2 separate regions of the Homo sapiens genome follow, and region 2 is linked to region 1. Evidence: promoter capture Hi-C in human tissues and cell types (Jung and others, 2019). All regions are on one chromosome and are shown on one strand. Each heading gives the region's core, a stretch centred on a gene start or on the middle of the fragment in contact. The rest is flanking DNA. Distances are from core to core; before and after follow the strand shown.

Evidence for each region. Contacts are between HindIII fragments. The study calls those that stand out against the background at their distance.
Region 2: a contact is called between a fragment that was not itself captured here and the fragment with the promoter of TESC in region 1, in 1 of the 25 tissues and cell types used here (spleen).

What each region holds. Positions count from the first base shown.
Region 1 is chr12:117,094,400-117,100,665 of GRCh38, reverse strand. TESC (tescalcin) reads left to right here and starts at 1,250. Exons shown (of 8, transcript NM_017899.4): 1 at 1,250-1,441. The coding sequence starts at 1,384. It overlaps TESC-AS1 (TESC antisense RNA 1), which reads right to left and starts at 1,199. Exons shown (of 3, transcript NR_120464.1): 1 at 1,022-1,199; 2 at 26-213. RefSeq lists silencers at 34-251, 1,118-1,256, 995-1,514, 1,575-1,684, 1,755-1,854. The HindIII fragment of the contact is 11,228 bases long and covers 1-6,266 here.
Region 2 is chr12:115,967,716-115,973,621 of GRCh38, reverse strand. It overlaps MED13L (mediator complex subunit 13L), which reads left to right. Exons shown (of 31, transcript NM_015335.5): 26 at 1,386-1,544; 27 at 2,852-3,028; 28 at 4,525-4,682. Among named protein-coding and RNA genes, the nearest start is that of LINC02463, 84 kb to the right of the region's middle. The HindIII fragment of the contact is 6,936 bases long and covers 1,085-5,906 here.

The sequences.
Region 1 (6,266 bases), core at 1-2,500:
ATCGAGACTAACGTTCAGAACAGACCTGATACCTGACGGTCATTGATGGTGGTGTCACTAAGCACTGCAGAGCCTTCAGGAGAGCCTTGACCTTGATGTTCTGCCCTGGCTGTGTGCCTCTCCAGGGGACAAGATTCCATAGCGCCCACCAGCCTCTGTGGCCATGTGCTGTGTCCACGCCAGGCCCTCTGGTGGACATCTCATTAACTTATCCTTATTTTAAGGAGGAGGAATCACATTACACAGGCAACAGCATCGGCCCCAGTCACCCCAACTGGATGGAGAGCCAACCCCTCAAGCCATCTTAACCCAGAACTTCCCTAATGGGCATGGGGACCACCGGCATTGCCTTCTCTCCAGCAGTTTGTCCCAAATGCAGCCTCCTGGGCCCACTTCTGCAGTTGTTTTTTTGTTTGTTTGTTTTTTGAGACAGAGTCTTGCTCTGTCGCCCAGGCTGGAGTGCAGTGGCAAGATCTCAGCTCACTGCAACCTCTGCCTCCCAGGTGCAAGTGATTCTCCTGCCTCAGCCTCCGGAGTAGCTGGGATTACAGGCATGTGCCACCGCGCCTGGCTAATTTTTGTGTTTTTAGTAGAGACGGGGTTTCACCATGTTGGCCAGGCTGGTCTCGAACTCATGAGCTCAAGTGATCCGCCCGCCTTGGCCTCCCAAAGTGCTGGGATTACAGGCGTGAGCCATGCGCCCAGCCCGCTCCTGCAGTTTGAGGTGCCTCTCAGCCACCGGGCTGTGCAGGGCCCACACGGGCCGCCACGTGGGTGTGTTCACCTCAGAAGGTGCTGGGGCTTTCCTGGAAAAAACCAAAGCGCATGGTGCATTTTCAAATAGGATTATTATTACTGTTGTTCTCCATAGAGCTATTTCATGCTCGCTGACTTCCTTGACTATCTCAGTGGAGTTTCCCTCCTAAGATCTGGAGGATGTAAGGTGGGATGGGTTGGGAGTGGGCATAGCACCTCCCAGGGGTCCCACCCCTCCTACCCACGCCCCCAAATTTGCTCACACCTGCTTCCTTCCAGATCCAGCAGGTGTGCGGAAGGGACGAGGTACGTGAGCACTGCTGCACGAACGGGGACTCCAGAGCGGTGGGCTCCGGGGTCCCCTTCCCGGCGGTTTCCGGGCCGGGGCGGGGCGGGGCGCTCCCCTAGCCGCGCAGTGCGCGAAACCGGCGTGCGCTAGGACCGCGGCGCGCCGCCCTCCGCCGTTATATGAGGCCCCGCTCCGGCCCCACGCGGAACCCGCGGCTCCGAGCCTTCGCCGGCGTCCCGACCCGAGGCCGGACCCGAGGCCAGTCCCGCCGCTGCGCAGCCGAAGCCAGTGCGGGGCCTGAGAGGGACGCGCGCCCCGGGGCCCCCGCCGCGGGCACCATGGGCGCTGCCCACTCCGCGTCTGAGGAGGTGCGGGAGCTCGAGGGCAAGACCGGCTGTGAGTACCCGCGGGGGGCGGCGCGGGGACCGGGGCGGGACCTCCGAACGGCCACTGTTGGGGACCCCGGCCCGCCGCCGCGCTGTGTGACCTTGGGCCAGTGGCGGGCCCTCTCTGCGCCTCAGTCTCCTCCTCTTTCAAATGGGTCCCCGCTGGCCACCTCGCGGGCTGCGGCGAGGAGCTCCGCGGCGATGCTCAGTGCCGCAGCCGCTCAGCTTCGGACTGGCCCGGGAACTCCCTGGCCGGGGGACTGCGGACCGGGGAGGGAGCGGGGCCCAGGCTTCCCAAGCGCAGGGCAGGTGCCTCAGGCCGGGCGGGCAAGTCCCTCAGGCACCCCCGCTGGCGCGCGCGCCCCACACCTGAGAGTCGTTTGCATTCGTGAGCGCGAGAGCGGAAAGTTTTGAAGTCGGCGGACCTGGGTGGGAACAGGTCTCCGACGCTCCCCGGCCGGGTGACCTTAGTCGGGAGAGCCGGCGCCCGGCGCCTGCTTTCGTCCTCGCATCTGTAAAATGGGTTCAGGCAGCCTCATCCCCGCGGGTGGCTGGGAGACTTAGCGAGGCAGCGGCCGCAGAGCACTTTGCCCGGAGCCCAGCGTCCTCCCCTGAGTTCGCTGAGTCTCCCGGGACCAGCAAAGGCTGCGCGCCCCGCATCGGCCCGGAGGCGGGGAGCCCTGGGAGGCCTGGCCGAGCTGCCCGCAGGGAAATGGCGGAGAAAGCGCTTCTCTGCCCGAGTTCAGCCGGGCTGGGGACTTGGCCCTGGGTCCTGAACTCGGCATGGCCAGTTCTGCCTCTGGCTGTGGACCAGGGTGTGGACTGGAGACCGCGGGGGCCAGGTGTGTGGGCAAACCGGCTTTGGCGAGCGACAGACCGGCTGTGAACCCTGCCAGCTGCACTTCCTGGCTGTGTGACCTTGGGCTAGTCACTTTACCTCTCTGATTCTCAGCTTTCCTTCTCTGTTGTAAGAGTTCTCCTAGTACCTGGTAGACGCTCAGGAAATGGGAGCTGCAGATATTTTGGGAAAGAGCTAGCTCCTGGCACCTGCTTCAAGTGCAGAGAACCAGCGTCCAGTATTGATCACCAAGAGAGGGTGGCCCAGCTGTTTGTGTGTCAGCTGAAAAGCAACCCCTCTTGACCCCCAATCTAAATACCCCTTTCCAGGAGAACTGGATGAAAATTGCAGAAAACCATTAATAACTGGTGTGTGTATGCACGCACTTATACGTCTATATCTGTATCTCTGTGTGTGTAGAGATATAGAAATATCCAACTAAAGAAGTAAAAGGTGTGGCTCAGCATATATAATATGGTACCCTTTTTTCTGTTTTTTAAAAAAGGATCCTTTGAGCTGGAGCCGCAAAGTAAAAAGAAATAGAAAATGTAAAAAGAGGGGAAAATAAGAGTATACATTTGTAATTGCTATATTTGCAGACTGGAAGAATCCACCAGAAAGTACGAATGGATGCTTGGTGGGGGTTGCGGGGGGAGTGGAAGGGATGAAGGGAGAGTGAGCTTTTTCTCCGTAAACGTTTTTATATGTTCATTTTGAACTATGTTGGATATTTTACTTACTCAAAAAGTTTTATGCACTTCAATCCGAAGACTAATATGAGAGAGAAAGGAGGGATTCCTCTAGCTCTTACTTGCTTGGGTCTCCTCTGCTTTTATTATTTCTCATGTGCCCTCTCCTCGCCTCCCACTGCTTTGAATCTGGATGGGTGTCGATGGGCATTCTCTGTGGCTGGGATCCCCGTTGGAAGGGTGGGCTCTCCGGCAGCCCACGGGGCACTCGGGAATTCCACCTGGTTGTGGGTTTGACAGGGAGGAGGGGCTGCAGAGCATGCTGGGAGTCTTGTCAGTTTCCTGGGTCCAGCCTCCCACTGGGATGACAGATGCTGTGTTCCTGCTCTGTAACCTTCCTAGATGTAGCTGCAGCGGCTTCCCTTCTTGCTGCCCAGAGCTCAGACTTCATAACCCAAGGGAGATGGAGAGGGTCGGAGAGGAGGTTCTGAGGTTAGACTAGAGTAGGCAGGTGGAACTTTAGGTAGGTGGAAAGTTGCCCCCAGTCCTCCGAAAGGGACTGCGTAATTCGGTCACTTTTGCCCACTTAGCAAATATTTATAGACCAGGGGCTGGGGATTTAGAGATGACTCGGAGAGGCTGCTGTTCCTGGAGGGGGACACACAGTAAACAAAACGCCCGACAGGTGTTAAACTGTGAACGAGGCATAGCAGGGTGGCATGAGAATGGAGCTTTAGGGTGGATCCGGAGGTCCTCCCTGAGGAGGTGATAATGGAACAGAAATCCAAGTAAGAATGAGCCAGGGGTGTGCAAATCAGTGGAAAGGGCATCTCGGGCCGAGGGGACGTCGAATGCAGAGGCCCTGTGGCAGGGACAAGCCAGCAACAGTAAATAAGAATGCATGAGATGAGGACACAGCTGTCGTCAGGGCTCAGGCTGTGGCAGGAGCCTGGCTTCAGGGGCCTTGCCAGGTACCTTGGGCAAGTCACTTATGCTCTCTGAGCCTCAGTTTTATCTACTATAAAATGGGCATAGTCATAGTACCTCCCTTGAAGTTGTTGGGAAGGATTGAGTTAATATACATGAAGTAGTTAGACCAAACACATGTACATGGTTTGTTATTGACCATGCTTTAAACACTCTTGTATGTCCTGGTCGCTCCGAGCCATAGCTGAGAGTTGAGTCTTGGTCCCACCTCTCTGAGCTACATGACCTTGGGCAAGTCATCTTACTTCTCTGAGCCTCAGTACCCCCACCTGGATCCTGAAGTCATTGTGTGGATTTGATAAGGTTACGTGCGAGACGATCGGCTTGGCATGGGAACGTCAGCTCCCAGAGACCCAGTGGGTCAGGCAGGGCCCTTCCTCCAAGGCCATTCCCTTGGGAATCTTCCCTGAGAAAAAGGGAGAAAAGCCTCAGGGTAAGGTGGCCAGAGGACAGACTGAGCCCACAGGGCTGCTGACTCCCCCGCCTCCCTGAGGACCAAGATGACCCCTGACTTTCTGGGGAGGAATCAGCTTGGTCCCTTTCTGAGAACACCATCCAGAAAGGACCAGAAGGTCAGGCTGAGGCTGGTGATAATGAACATAATTCCCCAAGCACCTGCTGAGCATCAGGCTCCACGCTGGTGCTCTCTGCATAACACTCTTTATAGTAATGATCCCCCAGGAAGGCAGTGTTAGGGCCATTTTACAGGTGAGGAAACTGAGGCTTAGAGAGGTAAACCAGCTTGCCTGCAGTCCCACAGCTGCTAAGTGGAGGAGTTGGAGATCATGGGATCCCCAAGCCTACTTTCTTTTTTTACAGTTTTTTTTAATTTTTAGTTTTTGAGGCAGGGTCTTGCTCTCTCACCCAGGCTGGAGTGCAAGGGGCATGATCAAGCTCACTGCAACCTCGAACTCCTGGGCTCCAGCGATCCTCCCACCTCAGCCTTCCCAGTAGCTATGACTGCAGGTGTGCGCCACCACACCAGCTAATTTTAAATTTTTCTGTAGAGACAGGGGTCTTGCCATGTTGATCAGACTAGTCTCAAATTCCTGGCCTCAAAGTGATCCTCCCACTTCAGCCTCTTGAAAGCGCTGGAGTTACAGGCATGAGCCACCATGCCTGGCCCCAAGACTGCTTTCTTACTGCCAGCATGCTTTCACTGTGTGTAGCTGCCACTTGAATTTCTAGGAACCAAGAAGGGATAGGAAAAGACTCCCGTATTTTTTCTCACCTTCAGGCCTTTGCACAAAAGCTGTTCCTCTGCCTGGAGCACTGTTTTCATTTGATGTGTACAATCAGGTGTTTACGTACGGGAGCCTTTCTCTGTCTCCACCCAGGGTAAGGTCTAGGCCGGGCGTGGTGGCTCACGCCTATAATCCCAGCACTTTGGGAGGCCAAGGCAGGTAGATCATGAGGTCAGGAGTTCAAGACCAGCCTGGCCAAGATAGTGAAACCCTGTCTCTACTAAAACTACAAAAATTAGCTGTGCGCGGTGGCAGACGCCTGTAATCCCAGCTACTCGGGAGGCTGAGGTCGGAGAATCGCTTGAACCTGGGTGGCGGAGGTTGCGGTGAGCTGAGAGCATGCCACTGTACTCCAGCCTGGGCGACAGAGTGAACTCCATCTCACAAAAAACAAAAACAAGAAAAAACAAACTCAAACCTTTCCTCTTAACCTTGTCTCTCTCTCTTTTTTTTTTTTTTTGAGATGAATTTTCACTCTTGTTGCCCAAGCTGGAGTGCAGTGGCGCGATCTCAGCTCACTGAAACCTCTGCCTCCTGGGTTCAAGCAATTCTCCTGCCTCAGCCTCGTGAGTAGCTGGGATTACAGGTGCCCGCCACCATGCTCGGCTAATTTTTGTATTTTTAGTAGAGACAGGGTTTCACCATGTCGGCCAGGCTGGTCTGAAACTCCTGACCTTAAGTGATCCGCCTGCCTCTGCCTCCCAAAGTGCTGGGATTACAGGTGTGAGCCACCGCGCACAGCGTTAACCCTGTCTCTTTATGAAACGAATGCTCATTATTGTTCAGGGGTTGGCTTACCTGCTGCTCCCATCCAGAAAGCCATCTCTCCATCCGACCTTTAAGGGTTAAACACCCATCCTCAGCGCTCCTGGAGCCCGCAATAGCAGGCATCACACCATGTTATACTTGTCAACTCTGTCACCTGCCACCCCTTCGAAACTTGGAGCTCCCTAGAGCAGAAAGAACGTGTCTTGTTCACCTTTGTATGCACTTGGTGGTTCAGTGAGAGCATAAGAGGCTCACGTTAAAGGGGCACAGTCCCTGGGGACTTTAAAACTCAAGGTGTATTGTTCAGGA
Region 2 (5,906 bases), core at 3,303-5,802, 1.1 Mb after region 1:
TAGACTATAATAGGAAAGAAGAGGGAGGATAAAAATATAGAGTAATAGTCTAGTCACTTGGTATTTTGGAAAATTATTAAGGCCATCTCCTTCCTTTGTATGATTTTTGTAAGGGCACATTCTTCTTCCTTATCTCTTAGTGGAGAGGAATGTGTGACTGGAGGAGCCCATCAAAAGATTGAAAGAAAATGTATGTTCAGGAATAAAAACACAGGAAGAACCTAGTGTACAGGAAATCTGTTTACTAATCTACAGCTCCTTCCTTTGAGGAGCCAAGATCTGTGCCACATTGCATCTCCATGGGACAGTGTATGACAGGAGCCTTAGGTTTCAGAGTCAGCTTTGTGAATTTCTGTTTCTTATCTCCAGAGTCTTTATGATGAAATACACACTGCCTTTTCTTTCGTACTTGGTTTGAAATATGAAGCTCACATCTGTGATTTCCCATAGTTTTAAAACAAACATTCTTCATGTTCCTGGCCACTTTTATTTCAGCCACTTCAGTTTGGGGTTCATTGGGAATATGGAAACAGTTTTCCATTCACTTGCTCTTTAAGGGGAGAAATGGCAGCTTATTTGGGGGAAAAAAAGTGTGGAGGTAGAGCAGCCTGCACTGGTGTGGCATTTTATGAGCAAGATGGGATCCGAAAGCAGGGGTGATGCATAGGAATGGCGCATACTTCGTGTGTGTAAGGGAGGTCAGAAGAGGGGACCAAGTGCTTTCCACTTCTCAGAGTAACATAATCCTCCACAGTGCTCCAGTTAGGTATAATGCTTTTGTTTGGAGGCAATAAACATTAGAAAGGAAATTTATGCCAACATTTCAATCTCCACTATTAGTATGGCATCATTTGGAGCACTTCACTCACACTCGTTGTGAGCTCTTTTGGGTGTTCTAAGAACTATTTCTCTTCATTTCTGCTGCTGTTTGACTTTCATGGAAATAACTAACCTACAACAATAAACAAAACTCAGGTTTACCTCCACCTGCCAGTGCTTTCCTCCAGAGCAGAGTACTGAAAGAATCGGACCTTGAGAAGGAGGAGAAAGGATAGGGCAGCTAACACTGCTGTCATCATGGAAAAGCACTCTAAGTGCCTAAATCTGGTCTAGGTAGATTAGACTGGATTAGTGCTGGACTCTCAAAGGTCATTTCAGACATGACTTCAGCCACAGAATAGTAGGCCTTTGTTCCTTTGTTAATGAAGTGTAATAGAAGTCGAGTAACATTCTCTATAGCAAGGAGGGGAACATATGTAAAGCCATAATTCCCTTTAGGGCCCAACCTTGGAAATTCAATTACCGGGCAGAACTGCTAAAAAGCTCAAATCTCCCATCAGTATGAATTTCTAAAGACTGTGTATGACTGCGATATTTGATTTCAGATTGGAGTATCCTCCTTGGAGAATGTTCACTACAGACAATCAGCAAAAAGCTCAAGGATGTGTGCCGGATGTGTGGAATCTCTGCCGCAGACTCTCCTTCTATCCTTAGTGCCTGCCTGGTTGCCATGGAGCCCCAGGGGTCCTTTGTAGTGATGCCAGGTAAATTTCTTCTTGTCATTGTCATTAATTACATATCACATCAATTCAGTCCACTCAAACTTAAGTCCGCAGACAAGGGTAGAATTGTCTTCATTATATTTCTATAAGGGAAGATTGTATTTGGGGCTTAAAGATGGAAAACATTCGATACCTTCCATGCGGAGTGGTTTGTGATTTTATCATGTTTGTTGACCATAGCTCGGGGGAGAGACTAAGTTCTGAATATCATTGAGATCTCATAGAGTCATGGCTAATGACTGTTACCTGACCCCAGTTTGTTGTTAGTATATGAAGATCACCCTCCAAAGAACTATGAAAGTAGACACCAGAATGATGCATATTTGAATATCCTTTTGAAGACATGCATTTGGCAGAATCTCTCAGCAGCCTCGAAGGGATATTTCTATAGTCTCTCTGATACGGTTGAAGATGAATGGGAAGGCAAACAAGGATAAAGCAGTTAGCACAGTACCTGGTACACAGTAAGCTCTCAATAGATGTAGGTGTCATTTGTGGATGGCCAAAACGTGGCCACAGAATTTCTTAAGAATCTGGCTGGTTTTTGAAAACCAGTAACTGAGCGATTTTATATTTTTATAACCTATCTTTACCATCCAGATATTTCTTGAATCAAATGGGGGACCTTCCCCACTTATTCCTTATAAAAGTCAACAGTATTGTGGTGTGAGAATGGGGTTACTTGTCATCAATCCAGTGAGAGACAGATGTCCTCATTAGACTATAGGTTACCTCTGTTGCCGCTACCACTTGGGCAGTTACGTAACTTCTTTGTGCTTTTGTCCTCATCTATAAATGGGGATCATAGTTCCTACCTTCAGATGCTGTGATGATCAAATGCGATGACTTGAATGAAGAGTTTAGCACAAATGCTGGCATGTAGTAAGCATTCATTAAGTGTTATAACATGTATTGATTTTATGGTCCTATCTCTATAGGATTGTTAACCGTTTAGAACAGTACTTTATAAATTGTGAACAACCAGAGGAGGAAAGAAAGTAGGGTGTTTATTTTTAGAAATACTTCTTACGTAAGTAATTAAAACATTTAGTGGACTTGGTCCAATTTTATCTTAACCTTTTCAGTATGAAATGAAACTTGGGTTATTATAGACAGCTATGTGCTCTGAGTCAGTTTCTTTGAAGATATTTAAACAATTGGACTCAATTTTGAATGTGTATTTATCATGGCATTTTCATCAGACTCATACCACTCCAGATCAGGCCCTCTGAAAACCTCATTTCTGGGGTTGTTCATTGATTGATATAATTCTATTTTTTTCTTTAAAGATGCTGTCACAATGGGCTCTGTTTTTGGCCGAAGTACTGCACTGAACATGCAGTCATCTCAGCTCAACACCCCTCAAGATGCTTCTTGTACACACATCTTGGTGTTCCCAACATCATCAACCATCCAGGTGGCTCCAGCCAACTACCCCAATGAAGATGGGTTTAGCCCCAACAATGGTGAGTAGAAGACCTGTATGGATAGTGCTCACCTTCATGCAGGGCAGAGCCGGAGTATGGAATCACTGGGCTGCCGCATGGCTTTTCTGTGTTGTAATAAACAACCCAGGAACTATAAAGAGGGGATAGAAGGTTTGAGAATCTATTTGGTCTTAAAGCTTTGATTTATCTGCACAATTAACAAGACCAAATAAATATTTTCCTTGTTTGGGCAATTAACTTTCTTCCATTTTTCATTAAAGGCAAAAAATAATACCTGCGTGGCACTGTTCTGTACTTAGGTGCCACTCTTTCAATAAATATTTGCTGATGTGATTTGAAATGTGTGAAGTACTAAGCAATATGAAGAGAGCACCTTCCTTTAGCTAGTCTATGGCAATCTAATTTGCTATAGAGAAACCCTTATTTGATTATTCTTAATGGAAATTTTTGAATAGCTGTTAAGGTATTTGTTTAAAAAAATGATTATTTATAAACTATAAAACACTCAACACAGCATCCATTTGCATTGTTTTTGAAGAAATTATAACACCTACCAGTGTTTATTTATGGTAAATGGGATGAGGAAAAGGATACCAAATTTTATATCTGGTATGATTACAATAGAATAACAAATATATGAGAAAATAAAAGAATCATAGAAAAAAATGATCATGGTGATTGGGTTCTAGGTGATGGTTTTCACTTTTTATACTTTTCTTTACAAATTTTCTGCTGTGAGTGTACCTTACTTTTATAATGTTGGGGAGGATTTCTTAATGAAAATGCTGGGCCAGGCACGGTGGCTTATGCCTGTAATCCTAGCACTTTGGGAGGCTGAGGCAGGCGGATCCCTTGAGGTCAGGAATTTGAGACTAGCCTGGCCAACGTGGTGAAACCCCATCTCTATGAAAAATACAAAAATTAGCCAGAAATCACTTGAACCCAGGAGGCAGAGGTTGCAGTGAGCCGAGATCGTGCCACTGCACTCCAGCCTGGGCAACAGAGGGAGACTCCATCTCAAAAAAAAAAAAAGAGAGAAAACATTGTGCTTTGATTTGCTTTTGGAATAGGTCTCCATTTTCAGGGCAAGTTCACACTCATTAACATGCATTCATTCAGCCTCTGGTGTTTTAGATGCTAAGTGGATACATAGATGGAGTCTACTGTGTTTTTGAATGGTGTCAATTTTAATGATTAAATTGTTGCTTTAGCTCTTTTACCATACTTTTATGTGTCTTTGGAGGCTATGCAGAGTGTAGGTTTTTATGTTATATTCTTTATTGCATTCTGTTAATACTGTACATAAGGAGATCATTGGAGAGAGTACAAAATGAAAGAATAATTTGTAATAGCTTGCACTCAGTAGGTCCTAACTGAATCTAAGTTATTAACAGTGTGTGTCCATAATAGCCATATGCCAACAAAACATGACATAGGTTAGGTTGGATTATTATGATATTGATATGTGGACTATCTTTTTAATTTTTGTGCTTTTTTTCCCCCCTTCCCTCTAGATGATATGTTTGTTGACCTTCCATTCCCAGATGATATGGACAATGATATTGGCATATTAATGACTGGGAACCTCCATTCCTCTCCCAACTCTTCCCCAGTACCCTCCCCAGGCTCTCCTTCTGGAATTGGTGTGGGCTCTCACTTCCAGCATAGTCGGGTAAGGATGATTTGGAGTACGTTGTTTAAGACAACCATAGCCTTTAGGAAGATAATCCACTGGACATCTGATCATCTTGTTCCTACTTGCACAGTTCTTGATGGTCTGGGTCCTTGGTACAAGAGAAATAAGTGTGGGAAACTGACTATGGTTCCATTTTGAATAGAAGGCAGGAATTTGAAATAAATATGTTATTATTTCTGATGAATAAGTTTTATCAGAAGAATAGTCCTATTACAGATGCAAGGGTTTTTAATGCATTGTTTTCTTAGCAAAAATTAGTTCTAGTTGCTTGCTGCTTCCCAGTTTTTTAATGGTTTTATTTTTTGCCAAAATAGTGGCTTTTAAGAGATTAGTACAACAACCGTACTTACTCAACATGCAGAGTAATTGTGCTGATTGAAGAACACGTTGGTGATGGCTTGTTCTGAAAGGAGCCTGCCGTGCTCTTTGCGTGTCCTGGCTTAGTCATTTTGCAGCCTTCTTCTTTCTAGCCGACCTGCAGGAATGGCAAGAGCCGCCAGGAGATTGATTTTACAGATGTGTCCAGGTTAACGCCAGAGTATTAAGGAAAAAACCAGAGCTTACAACTGGTTTCATCTTTAAATATCTCAGGGATATTGGAGGTGGATGAACAACAGAAGATTTAAGAGTTAGAGGGTTCTGCCACAGCTTGTGGTAACTTTGCTTCAGTTAGATGATTCCTGCTGCATCACTGTATTGTACTGTTTATTTAAAATGTTATGAGACTGGGGAGTTAAGACTTTGAAAAATAGCTATGTCTGGTATCTTAGACTGAACAAGCATAAGCAGCCTGCTCACACTCATTTATTTAGACACAAAGATGGACATAAAGGACTTCAGTTTTCATCGGGGGGGGGGGGGGACTTTTATTCCCAGCACTGAATTTATTAGACGCTGGAGAGAAAAAAGGTTTATAGCTTAGATTAGTCACAGAGCAGGTAAGACCAGAGGAGGGCATCTCAGACTGTTCCCATGTTATACCTGCCCCTATTACCCTCTTCTGGAAGGAAGGGGTTTTAAGGGTCTTTGTTTCCTTTGCAGTACTTACCAGTTAATGATAATTTGTTCATGGGAAACGGTTGTGATAGGAACGAAAAACACAAATGTTACATTGTCTATTTTTTTAAAGTTGGGTTTAATTTGAATTCTGGAGGCAAGTAGCATAGCAGCTAAGAATGCATGCCCCACAGTCTGTTAAAG